Linked DNA regions of Homo sapiens: region 1 is linked to region 2. The links are contacts of gene promoters, found by promoter capture Hi-C in human tissues and cell types (Jung and others, 2019). All regions are on one chromosome and are shown on one strand. The core of a region is centred on a gene start or on the middle of the fragment in contact, and the rest is flanking DNA. Distances in the headings are between cores, read along the strand shown. Region 1 overlaps LOC105375607 (a long non-coding RNA gene). Region 2 holds the start of MNX1 (motor neuron and pancreas homeobox 1).

Region 1 (6,569 bases), core at 2,296-4,795, 110 kb after region 2:
AAGCTGTAAAGCTCTATACAAATGTGAATGATTATTTTAATTTAGTATTTTAAACTTCAAAACCAAATTGATACAACTGATCATTTAAGTCCAGGAGGTAACTACTTCCCTCTTGCTTCTAATGCCTGACAATGAGGAACAGAACTGGGGTTGAGGCTGCTCTCCAGGGAAGGCGGCTGATGCATCAAAGAAGGTCATGTTTTATTTGTAAATTGGGCAATGGGTCCTTGGAACTTGGTATTTTATCCTTTTAGTCATTTTGTATGTCCAAAATATTTCATCATAAATTTAAATCAATCCCTTCCCTTGCTTTTCTATTAATACGTGAGGCACTGGGTTGGGAGAAGTCGGATAGGGTCCCTTCATACCAGCTGGGAAGTTTCTGTGGTGACTGCTCCATTGGGTAAGATTTTAGCTTTGTTGATCAGCCCGTCTGATCAACAGGACCAGTTGCTGGGAGGTTAGAAGGAGCAGTGGACGGCCACTTGGCCATAAGCATCACACGGAGAGGGGCCTTGTCTCTGTTGCTGTGTCTCCAGCTCCTGGCGCACAGCCCACGTGTGTCTGCTGAGTGCGGGCAGCCCTGGAGTGGGGTCTTTGCCTTCTCCTCCTGTCTGTTTCTCCTGTTCTTCTGGGCCCCTAGATGATCCCACGTCTTCATGTCCTGGCAGTTGGGTGGTTCTAGGGACCGTGGGATAAGATTGCCAACGGGCCTGTGTGGGAGGGCCGTGTGCCACTTCTCATCACCCTGAGACCATCGTGTTCTTGTCCCCACTGTAGAGATGGAGGCACGAGAGCTGGGCAGGCTGACCTGCCGAGTGGCCGCGGCGGACACTGTCCTAGAGAGCCGTCCAGACTCCCAGCAGACCTTGCATTAGCACCAGGTAAACCTAGGGGTTGTTTGTACCTGAGCATGACGTAGCCTGCCCTGACAATTTCATGCTCCTGTCAAGAAGCGTGAGCTCCTGCATCCACACACAGCGGTTCTCGGGAGGAAAAGCATCACAGGCAAGGCAAGGGAGAGGAAGAGGAAGGTACATTTTAATAACAAACGGTTGAGGCTTTAAGTGAAATGGAAGATCTTTATGTGAAAAACGGTTGAGATCTGGTGATAATTTGAAAGTAAAATCCATGGTCCTTGTTTCTGTAACGGCAGTTTGAGGAAGCTGCATGTTCACAATGACCGTGCCGGCCTTCCTAGTGAAGGTGTCTACCGACTAGGACTAAAGCCATGGTGACATAAAAGAGATTTTCATAACTAAACAGTTCTTTAAATGTGTGTCATTGAGCACCCGATGTGGCTTCCAAGATAGTTCAGCGGGACACAGGGTAAGGTGTGGAGGCAAAAGTGCGTCTCGCCCAGACCCAGCGGTCGAGAGGGCTCTGTGGCCACCTCCACCAGCTTCTTAGCCACCGGCCATTTCAATCCAGGTGAGCACAGCACAGATGGGCAGGATTCTAACTCCCCTGCACCTCTGTCTGGAAATCTCTGGAACTGACTAGAAAGTGGTTCTGGAAACTTCTCTAGAGATTGTCTATGCAGGCCTAAGCACTGCAAATGGTACTGGCAGAGCCCAGCTTGGAGATTTTCCTGAGGTTAGACCCGCTGGCCCTGCTGCACAACCAACTACCCAGCACTTGGTGGCCCAAAAGCAAAACACATTTGGTGCCCAGCTGCTGCGGGCCAGGGGCTGCCGCGGGCCAGGGGCTTGGGGATGGCTTCGCTGGGTGCTTCTCTCTCAGGGCCTCTGGCGAGGCTGCAGTCAAGAGGCCGGCTGTGGCTGCATTTGCCAAAGGCTCAACGGAGGCAGGTGGGCCCACCTCAGGATGGCCCCGTTGTGGGGGTTGGAGCTGGAGGCCTCGGCTCTGTGCCGCGTGGGGCCCTCTGTGCACTGCCTGAGTATGCTCCCTGTGTGGTGTTTGCGTTCTCCAGGGTGCATGACCCAAGAGAGGGAGCACACAGGAAGCTGAGTGCCTCGCGTGAATGTGTCTCCGAGGCCCACACTGCGGAGTCCAGGTTTCTTCTACTCAGCAGAAAAGAGCAGCTAAATCCAACCTGTGCTCCAGGGGAGGGGCATAGGCGCCATCTTTTTTTTTTTTTTTTTTTTTTTTTGAGATGGGGTCTGGCCATGTTGTCCAGGCCGATCTTGGACTTTTGGATGCCTCCCATCTCAGCCCACGTAGCTGAGTCTACAGGTATAAGCCATGGCACCTGGCTTCAGGATCCATCTTTTGTTTCTTTGTTTTTGAGACTGAGTCTCACTGTGTCGCCCAGGCTGGAGTGCAGTGCCATGATCTTGGCTCACTGCACCCTCCACCTCCTAGGTTCGAGTGATTCTCCTGCCTCAGCCTCCTAAGTAGCTGGGATTACAGGTGCCTGACACCAAGCCTGGCTAATTTTTGTATTTTTAGTAGAGACAGGGTTTCACCATGTCGGCCAGGCTGGTCTTGAACTCCTGACCTCAGGTGATCCACCCACCTCGGCCACTCAAAGTGCTGGGATTACAGGCATGAGCCACTGCGCCCAGCCCAGGCTCCATCGTTTGAAGAGAGTGCCAGAGAAGCTGTGCATATACAGGCTGAGCATCCCTAATCCAAAAATCCCAAATCTGAAAAGCTCCAAAATTCAGAACGTTTTGAGCACCAACGTGATGCCACAAGGGGAGAATCTCATGCATGCCCTCACGTGATGGGTCACAGTCAAAATGCAAACTTTGTGTTCTGCACAAAATTATGTTTATGTATTGCATCGAGTTATCTTCAGCTATGTGTGTAAGGTGTATATGAAACATAAATGAATTTTGTGTTTAGATTTGGGTCCCACCCTCAAGATATCTCATTATTACAAATATTCCAAAATCCGAAAAAATAAAAATCTGAAACTTCTAGTCCAAACTATGTTGGATAAGAGATTGTAACTAGTATTTTAAATGCCATAAGATTTAATTGGCTAATATTTAACAATAACTATAATGTGCCAAGTACTAAGCTACATTTAGAAAAACAAATTGTCTAATCAAATGGTTGGTGTGATCATCTCTGAGTTACACACGAGCAGACAGACCTCAGAGGTGGCCTGACTTGCTCATACAGGCAGTACCTGAGATTTGAACCTTGGTCCTTTGATGCTGTAGTAACTATGTTGTTTATTTTCTGTATCTGATGCTCTGACACCTGGGGCCTGTTGACCCTGGGAGGCTGCCTCTCCCACAAACAGCCAGTTCCTGGATAGCGAACACTTGCCCACCCCACGCAGGCTTTCCATGTGCAAACCCTGCAATGCAGAGCCCACACCTGCCACCTCCTCTGTGGGCTCACACCCCAGGCCACTGTTCACCCACACTTGTCAACCCTGGGTAGGGACCAGACGCGGGGCAGCCCCTGGCCCCAGAGGGCTGTAATTATTCAAGCTGGGCAGTCCTGGGCCTGCTGACCCTGCCTTGGCCTCCCTTATTGTGGAAACCACAATAGAGGCTCCTGCTCGGTTCCCCCACCCCCCAGCATCCCGACCAACCCTGGCGCATCCCTGTGTGGCCCCTGTGGTGCGACCTGCCCTCCTCTCAGGATCTGTGAGTAACAAGCCATCTTTTCAATGGCAGCCATCCTGGATCTGTTGCCCTCACCATGCTGAACCATAAGCAAGCCTGTTGAAGACAGACAAACAGATGCCTGGCCTGGTCCTCCCCGCCGCCCCCTCCCTGCTGCCCCCTGGACACTTGCTGCTCCAGTGTGCACCATGGTGAGGGCACAGGGAGGCACCACCTGCATAGATCTCACAACAGCACATGGAGAGCTCTGCGCCAGGCCTTGGGTGCTTCTGGATTCCTTGCAGCTGGTGATTATTTCAGGCCCGCTGCTGCCTCTAGCCATGGCTCTTCAATGAACTTGTATCGGAAGAGATTTACTACTCTAACTAGATCTGTATCTCAATTTAATGAAAATGTTAAGGATACTTTGATGGTCTTGCGCCAGTGTAATTTTAAATGAAATGTCTTCACTCTTTGGCAGCCTGCACTGCTCAGGTGTTTAACTATCAGAAAGTGCTTAAGTGAAGTGCTCTTTGCAATACTGTCTTTACATCAGCTTGTTTTACAGCATTTTTTTCCCCAGAGTAAACAAAATAAGTTTTGTGGGTATCTTTGAGGCAAAGCCTCATCTGTGTTGCTAGAAATTAAACCCTGGCCACCATAGGTTACAAAGTGGTGCATCTTGGGGGAGACACCAGGCCTGGTGCTTCTTTCTAAGCTTTGGTTTCCACGTTTGTAAAATGTGGGTAATAACGTTTCCCTCATAGGACTGCTCTACGCACATAAGTTTAAAAGTCCGTATGGGGCCGCGCACAGTGGCTCACACCTGTAATCCCAGCACTTTGGGAGGCTGAAGTGGGTGGATCACTTGAGGTCAGCAGTTCGAGACCAGCCTGGGCAACACAGTGAGACCCCCATCTCTACTAAAAATATGAAAATTAGCTGGGCATTGTGGTGGGCGCCTGTAATCTCAGCTACTCGGGAGGCTGAGGCAGGAGAATCGCTTGAACCTGGGAGGCGGAGGTTGCAGTGAGCGGAGATCATGCCACTGCACTCCAGCCTGGGTGACAGAGCGAGACTCCATCTCAAAAAAAAAAAAAAAAAAAAGTCTATATGGCATGTCGTGTCATACCTGACAAAATATGAATCCTCAGTAAAGAGGAGCTTTGATTTTCCACTGCTGTGTTTATATGTTCCGACACTTGATTATTCGTAGATGACCTTGAGCAGAAGTGTAAGTGTATCTTCCCAAAACACAGGGTGCTCCGCGCTTGGCGAGGAGGAACTCTCCTTGACTGTCCTGGCAGCTTCGAGCTGTCCAAGGCGACAAGGAGCACTTGCAATTTGGCCTCCTACTTCCCACACATTGAAGGGCTGCCAAACACACGCTTAATTGTCTAACCTTTTTAAATGATTAAAATGATGGTGATGATAATGCGGAGAAGAGTAGAATGTTAACCGCAGCATGTTATCAGTACTTGGTGTTTTCATACTGTTTATCATCGCAGTTCTTTCAACCTGTGAACTTAGCAAAATGCCCTTTGAGTACAGATGCTGAGTGTCAGTAACGCTGGTCTGAAATGACCGGGCTCATTCAGCGTTTGTATCACTAAAATGTAGCCCTCAAGAATGGAGCCCGGCCAGGCCTATGCCTTCCACCTCGTGGGGCATCCTGCCCACGTGGCAGATGAAGTTGATGACGTTAAGTGACTCACCAAAGTCATGCAGTTAGGAAGGGTCAGGGAAGGGCTGGAACCCAAGTCTCAACAACGCTTTACTACTAGGAAACGTCTTAAGCGTTAGGAAGTTGAAGGCATGCATGAATATCTGAATATTGCTCAGTCTGCAATTGACAGTGTAAACAAGGTTTCACGGAAGAACAGCTCGGCGATCTGCCCGGGTAGCTGTGAAGTCACAGCCATGTTGGCCGATGGATAGTGGACACTGTTCCGTTTTTAGCAAAAAACCCCACAATCCTCAACCTTCAAGAGCTTTATGAGAAAAAGAAGAAAATGGAAATGCCTAGACTCACGAGGGGTGCTGCCTGCCTTCCTCCCGAGGAAGGAGGAAGCCTCTGGGTCCCCGTGCCTCCGGGCAGTCGGGCTCTGGCCCTTCTCGTCTTGTCCCAGACACGCTGTCTTTCTTCTGTTCCAAGCGGGGCCTTCACCTGCTTTCACTCTCACCCCTGCCCCTCCAGGCCCTTGTTCTGCCAAACTCCTCCTGTGACTCAGCCCCTCCCTCCCTCCACACTTGCATTATCGGTTCATTGCTGAGAACTGGGAGCCTGGGACACAGACCTCTGGGGAATAATTTCATGCCTGGAGAAGGAGCCCCTGGCAGGGCTTTGGCCACCGCCCCAGGCCTCAGAGCTGAGCGCCGGCCCCAGGGAGGCCTGTGTCTCACAGCCAGCCCCGCAGGAGCATCCCCAGCAGTGCACCTGGCTGTTCACAGCCGCAGCTTGAGGCGAGGATGGACGTTGAGGCCACACAACATGTTGGCCTTATTGGGTGACTGCAGCTCACAGGGGAGGGGCCCAGGTGCAGAGGCTGCCTGTGTCTGCAGTGCCCTGGGACTTATGCGGCAAGGCCTGAGCAAGGGTGTGGGCCGTGGACCTCAGAGCAGGCAAGGGCCGGGCTCGGGGGAGTCTGAGGGGCATCTCAGCTGCACACCGAGGCCCCTCGGGACAGCTGCTGACGCGTGGCCCGACCTCTCCTGGGGAAGTTCAACTCAAGGTGCAGAACAAGTCAGGTCAGGGCAGAGAGCCTGGTGGGGGGTGTGGGCAGGGGGAGGCTCCCGGTGACCCCACGGGAAACCCCGCAGAGGCTCTGGGGCAGGAGTCACTGTGAGGTGAGGAGAGAACCATCCGGAGTCGCCATCCACGGACAGATGCGGTTCTACAGGGTGAGGCAGGACAAGGCATGTCCCAGCACTGACTTGAAACTGTCCTGAAGCCACTGGAGCTGGTGTCCTAGGCAGAGAGGTCACACAGGCAGAGCTCTGAGTGCCAGAGACATGGGACTCATCAGGTAAAGGAAAGGAGGG
Region 2 (6,228 bases), core at 33-2,532:
GGTTAATCATTAGATCTCAGTCTCACACCTCCAACTGCCCCTTCCCGTTAAGAGAGGAAGAGAAGGCAAGGCCTGCGCATGGCCATTTTAATAATTCGCTGCCCGTCTCATGCCTGGGGGTCCGGGCGAGTCCTCGCAGGCCCCGGGCAGAGCCGAGGCGGCTTCGCAGCTCTTCCCCCGCTCGCTGGGAGCCAAGCGCAGAGAGGGGCAGGCGGTGCCGGTGGAGGATGCGCGAGGCCCTCCCGCCACGCGCATCCACGGGGGCCGCAGGGTACTCACAGTTGAAGTCGGGCATCTTAGGCAGGATCATGCCCGCGGTGGACGCGCGCAGCCACTGGTCCAGCTGGAAGGTGCCGGCGCCCAGCTTGATGGGGTCGGCGGGGTGCGCGGGGTGCGCGCCTTGCACCTGCGGGTACGAGTAGGAGAGCGCCGGGTGCTGGCCCGCCAGCGCAGCCGCCGCCGCCGCCGCGGAGTAGCCGTAGACCGGGTGGCCGTAGAGCGCCGCCTGCGCCGGGAGGCCCGCGCCGCCCTGCGCGCCCCCAGGGTGCAGCCCCAGCGCCAGGCCCCCAGCGGCGGCGGCGGCGGCGGCGGCGGCGGCAGCGGCCGCTGCGCCCGGATGCGCGTGGTGGTGGGGCCCCCCGTGCCCGCCGCCCGTGCCGCCGCCGCCGCCGCCCGCGCCCAGGAAGCCCGGCTTGGGCAGCAGCGCGCAGTGCGCGGCCAGCAGGCGCGGCGGCGACGGGCTCTCGGCGCGCAGGCGGTCGGCGGGCGCAGCCGGCGGCTCCGAGGACGCGGGGCTGCAGCTGCCGCTAGTCCCGCCGCTCGCCCCGCCGCCGCCGCCGCCACCTCCGGTGCCAGATGCGGCGGCGGCGAGCGACGTGACCAAGGCCAGCGGCGCGCTCTGCGCAGAGGCGGCTCGTGGGGGGTCCACCGCCAGCAGGGCGTCGATGCGGAAATTTTTGGATTTTTCCATCGGCTCGTTTGGGGCTGGCGCTCAGGGCCCGGTGGCGGGCGACGCGGCCGTGTGCGGGCTCGCGGAGTCAGTGCGTGCGGTGCAAGCCCGGGGGCTCGGTATTGTTATGGTGGTTATTTGCCAATAATCAAAGTCGCCGCCGGAAACTCAGCCGAGGGTGACCATGGTCCCGGCGCCTCCTCCGTGCGGGCCCCGCCCCGGGCCGCGCTCGCACAAACTCCCACGCGAGTGCTTCCCCGCGTCCGGGCCCGGGAGCCCGGTTCTTTGCGCTGCAGCCCTCAGGCGACCGCGCGGAGGCCGCTGCCGCCGTGGTGGGGACCCGCGCCCCTCCGCGCACTTGAAGCTCAGCGCGGCTTCCGATTGGCGCGCGCAGCGGGGGCCCGGGGAGGGCCGCGGGCTCCGCCATTGGCCGAGGGGCGCACCTGTCACCGTCCCGGCCGCCCGCCGCCCCGCCCCCGCGCCGCGAGGTCCTAAGCAGCCCGGGCTGTTGCGCGGCGCTGGCGGGCGGGGACACCAACGGGGAGTGGATACTCCGAGGCTCAACCTGGGGCCTCTGCCCGCCCTCCCCTGGGTGCGGAGCCGGACGGCGGGCACTGGCAACCCCCGGGCCCCTGGAGAGCCCCGCGGCGGCCCAAGACCCGCTCCCGAGACACGTGGGCCCCTCCGGACTTGGTTGGTCCCTGGAGCCAGCTGCGCGCGTCCTCTCCGGCCTCCTTGTCGGCGCTGGAGTGGGTCCACGTCTGCCTTGCGGAGCGCGGTGGTTCCACGCTCCTGAGCGCCCACGCTGCGCAGACCTGGCCGCTCTGCGAGGCGACGGCAGCGCACTGAAGACCGTGGTGTTTCCCAAGCCCTCCCTGCTCTCGGGCCTCCAGGGCGCAGCAGGGGAGGGTTTTGTCCCCGTGGCCAAAGCTCTGCAGGTCGAACCTTATCTGCTATGGGAAGGCCCCGCATTTTCAGGTGTGTGTGCGGGGGTGTGGGGGTGTAAACGCGCATGTGAGTGTGAGTTTGGCCTCCACGAATCCTCTCTGGGAGCCCCTGCCCCAGTCAAGGCGGAGACGGTAGATCTGGGCGCTCTGGCCTGCAGAACCCAAGTCGGCTTGCAGACGTCGCCCACGTGCCTGCTCAGTGGAGCGGGTCCTCGGTGACAAGGCTCTTCCTCGCTGCCGAGGGATGCCCATGGGCTTGCGGGAGTCAAGGCCCACACACCTCGGCCCTGAAAAACCCGTGGGGCCCGGCATCCTTCGGAAGCCCTGCCGCTGCGACCCCCGGCCAGTCCCCGGGCAGGAGCGGGGAAAGGCTATGTCTCTCGTGCTGCCGGGGCCTCCTGGGAAGTGGAGAGGAAAGGGCTTCCCGTGAGTGAGCGAGGCACGGAGTGAGCATCCAGGTCTCACCCCTCCCCCACACGCACACTTCAAATATTTACAGTAAAACCACTTCCAAGGGCGTTTTTGAAGCTGAAAGAATCCACACAGGGGTCGGGAAGTCAAGCGGCATCAACACCAGGCTTTGTCAATAGCGCCATTAGACCCAGTTATCTTCCCCAGCAAGCGTGAGAACTGGGAGGGAGTTCCAGGTTCCAGGGCTTGCTATGCAGGTGAGAGGTGAATAAAGGACCGGAAGGGGCTGTGGAGAGGGGAGAGAGCCAAAGAGAAACTCAGTGCCAGGTAAACTTCAAAATTAGCACGCCAGGTTGCTACAAGAGGGATTTTTAAAAAGGCAAATATAGAGACCTTGCCACTTCTCCTCAAAAGGCTTTTGACCTAGGCGAGAGTTGATGACAGTGACTCTGTTGCCATGAGTGGTATCGTTTTCATTATAACACAGGGTAGTTCCCAGATGCACAGGACTGGTTGGAAGGTTAGGAGGATGGCAATGGATGAGTAACTGCAACTTGGAGTAAATGTGATCTGGCTTTGCAGAGCCGACCACTGGTAAAAAGAAATCCCAGGCATTCACATGGAGTTTGTCGTGCCTTTAGATGTCTTTGTGGTGACACAAATGCAGTTCTACCTCTCACTGGAGAGAGGGAAACACGCGCATTTCTTGAACACCTACTATGTGCTATGAGCTTTCTGCAATTCTCATCCGTAATCTTCACTATGACACTAGAAGGAAGATTTTTATCATCTCCGTATCTCCATTTTCTTTTCTTTCTTTTTTTTTTTTGTATTTTTGGTAGAGACGGGGTTTCACCGTGTTAGCGAGGATGGTCTTGATCGCCTGACCTCCTGATCCGCGCGCCTCGGCCTCCCAAAGTGCTGGGATTACAGGAGTCAGCCACCGCGCCAGGCGCCCCCCACTTTTTTTTTTTTTTTTTGAGATGGAGTTTTGTTCTTGTTGCCCGGGCTGGAGTGCAATGCCATGATCATGGCTCACTGCAACCTCCATCTCCCAGGTTCAAGCGATTCTTCTGCCTCAGCCTCCCCAATAGCTGAGATTACAGGCATGTGCCACCAGGCCAGGCTAATTTTTGTGTTTTTAGTAGAGATGGGGTTTCACCATGTTGGTCAGGCTGGTCTCGAACTCCCGACCTCAGGTGATCCACCCACTTCAGCCTCCCAAAGTGCTGGGATTACAGGCATGAGCGACCGTGCCCGGGCTATCATCTCCATTTTCTAGAGTACAAGTTCAGAGAGTTTGGGATCCTTGTTCCCAGCAGACAGTTTGGCCTTAGAGCTGGGAGTGGGACCAGGTCTGATTGCAGAGGCCACACTGTTCCCACCCTGCTGCCCTCAAAGCTTTCAGGTACACCTAGCCCTGAGTCCCCATCCCATCTGTTTCTTTTTGGGGAGGGAAGGATTGTAAAGGAGACCAGAGATTCTTAGCCACCTGTCCCAGGCAGGAAGCCCTAGCTGTGACTCTGCCTCCCCAGGGTAGAGAACACAGCCTTGGCCTCCTCCTCCAGGGGTTTGGCACCAAGGCTGACTTGCCTTTCTCTTCTCATCACCCCCATCTGCTGGGGGCAGATTGCTTGGTCCTGAGGTCAATGATTTAGGGAGCTGGGGGAAGGGAGTGGCTGCAGAAGAAATCTCCCAGGATGGACCTTGGAGAAGATGCTGTTCCTCTCTCCAACCAAAAATACACACTGCCAGGGTGATTTTAGTTGGTGATGGGGTGTGTAGTCTAGACTCATGACATCAGCCATCTCCTTCAACAAAATCACAGTGGGTGTTTTCTGGCTTTTTTTTTTAACTCCTAGAGGAATTAATTTCACCCCTTTTTGTTCTGTAATAACCATGGTCCAAAACCCCTTCACACCCTGTCTCATGTTTCTATTCTGCCTGAGACCTGCTGAGGACACCTCCCTGAAAACACAGACAGGACAACACGTGTGCAGGTCCTTCAGGTGTCTGTACCACCTGTGGGGCTGTGCAAGGCTGTCCGAGGAGGCCTAGCCTAGCAGCCCTGCGTCCTGTCCGGACCGCCCCTCTGGCTGAGGTGCCATTTCAGGAATCTGAAGCTCCTTATCTCGATGGATTTGTTTCTTTGTCTACAGAAGCAGGGGTTGGACCAAATGGACTCTAAGGAGCTATAGGGCCTTAAAATGATCAGATGTTCTGCTTATATTTAAGAATATGTTAATATAAAAAGGAGGTTCTCTGTAAAGCTGCATGGAGAGAGGCAGGTGTGGGGGAGAGAGGGAGCTATCTGGGAAGTGTGGATCTTTGTGTGGTTTACAATGTGTGAGGCGGAGCCTGCTGGGTCTCTTCCTGTTCCCAGTATCTGTATTGATCCAGCCCAGCTGGCTTTGGGGCAGTCTGGAGCTGGGCTTGGGTCTTGGGAAGGGCCACAAAGAGAGATCAAAGGTCTGATCCTAGTAGTGCTACCAAACCTGAGTCTCCAGGTGAGTTTTCTCTCCAGCGGCCCCAGGGGCAGAACTCAGCCCTGGAGAGTTCTCCCTGGAGCTCTTGGTTTCTCAAGACAGGCAGAGAGGGCCTGGTGCACCCTAATCAGCTGGCCCCCACCACAGCTCCTCCCTGCCCAGCGCGGGAGCCTGCTTTCTACAGGCCTCCTGTTAAGGAACTGAAGAGTGCCTGCAGCTGCCCTTCCTTCCACTACTTGGGAAGGAGATGGTGATTTCTACAAACCATCACAAAAGAAAACGCCGTTGTAGTCTGTGTCTGTTTACATCTGGACTTACACACACAACTGGGAACCCGTGAGGACTGGGGAAAAAACCTGTACATTCACATATTCACAAGATGCGAGGCAGGTATCATGCATTTATTTATCATTTAGATATTGCTTTTTTTCCATGTGAAATGGAGCAGTTGCCTGGAAGGGCACTGGGTGGCTGAAGCAGGGGGCAGATCTTGCATTTCCAAAACTGAAGCCCAGGGCCAACAGAGAGGACTTGGCTGCAGAGGGGCCCAGGCACATTAGTCCTGTCCTGCTGAAGCCATGTGGTCTTCGGGGACTCATGCAGTTCCGTTTCAATGTAAACTGTCAAGGCTTTCTTCAGGAAACAGGCATGAAGATGCTGTGTAACTGGCCGGAGGGACCTAAGCACGAGTTTGAGATGGGACTTGCCCCTGGCACAGGAAGTAGCTTAGTTAGGCTGGAGTGGGAGCCCAGAGGGTCAGAGCAGGAACTGCTGGGAGATGCTCCGACCTCCTTCCTGGAGCTCAGAGGGAAGGAGAATCTGTGGAGAGGGCCTAGGCTCACCGGAGCTGGGGACATCTGCTCAGGTCCCCCCACCAACCCCAGCCCCTTCAGAGCAATGGGGGCCAAAGGCATCAAGTCATTCATGCTGTCCTTTGATCTGCTGACCTCCTCTATGGCCCCTGGGAGCTGGGCCTTAAAGGAGTCTGGAAAGGGTAGGCTCAGGATTAGCAACCCAAAGACCTGCAGCTCAAACCCTCAAACCGAGGCGGGGCCTGAGGTGGGCCCAGGTCTGCTGTGTGCTCCGCTCTATGGGTTTTCTCCCTCAGCCCCTCCTCCTCAGCCTCTCCCTGCAACCTGGATTTCCTGTTGCCATTTTAGAGGGCACCCTCACCCCGACTCCTCTCGCATGGCCAGCACCACCCAGGCTGCACTGGCAATGTGAGCCCCCCAGAACACCCCAAGTCACTGGCTTGACCCTCTCCTCTGAGCCCAGCCCTGGCTGCAAACAACCAGCCCCTACCAGGGGGGCTTGGCGAGAAGTTAGGGAGATGCCACAGGATTTAAATTAGTCAAATTCAGTGACCCAGGGGCCTTCTATTTTTGGAAATTTCCTCCAGAGACAAAAATCTCTGCTTCCTTCCAGACCTTGGGCA

Evidence for each region. The method cuts DNA at HindIII sites, captures the fragments that hold promoters and counts their contacts. A contact is called where the count stands out against the background at its distance.
Region 1: a fragment that was not itself captured here is called in contact with the fragment with the promoter of MNX1 in region 2 in 2 of the 25 tissues and cell types used here (H1 embryonic stem cells and IMR-90 fibroblasts).

The regions. Positions count from the first base shown.
Region 1 is chr7:157,119,613-157,126,181 of GRCh38, forward strand. LOC105375607 (a long non-coding RNA gene) reads left to right here. Exons shown (of 5, transcript XR_928261.2): 4 at 781-884; 5 at 3,600-4,397. Among named protein-coding and RNA genes, the nearest start is that of UBE3C, 16 kb to the right of the region's middle. RefSeq lists an enhancer at 5,546-6,096. The HindIII fragment of the contact is 4,704 bases long and covers 1,194-5,897 here.
Region 2 is chr7:157,009,381-157,015,608 of GRCh38, forward strand. It overlaps MNX1 (motor neuron and pancreas homeobox 1), which reads right to left and starts at 1,283. Exons shown (of 3, transcript NM_005515.4): 1 at 280-1,283. The coding sequence starts at 970. MNX1-AS1 (MNX1 antisense RNA 1 (head to head)) reads left to right here and starts at 1,477. Exons shown (of 2, transcript NR_038835.1): 1 at 1,477-1,927. RefSeq lists silencers at 445-494, 505-574, 1,085-1,694. The HindIII fragment of the contact is 12,613 bases long and covers 1-5,026 here.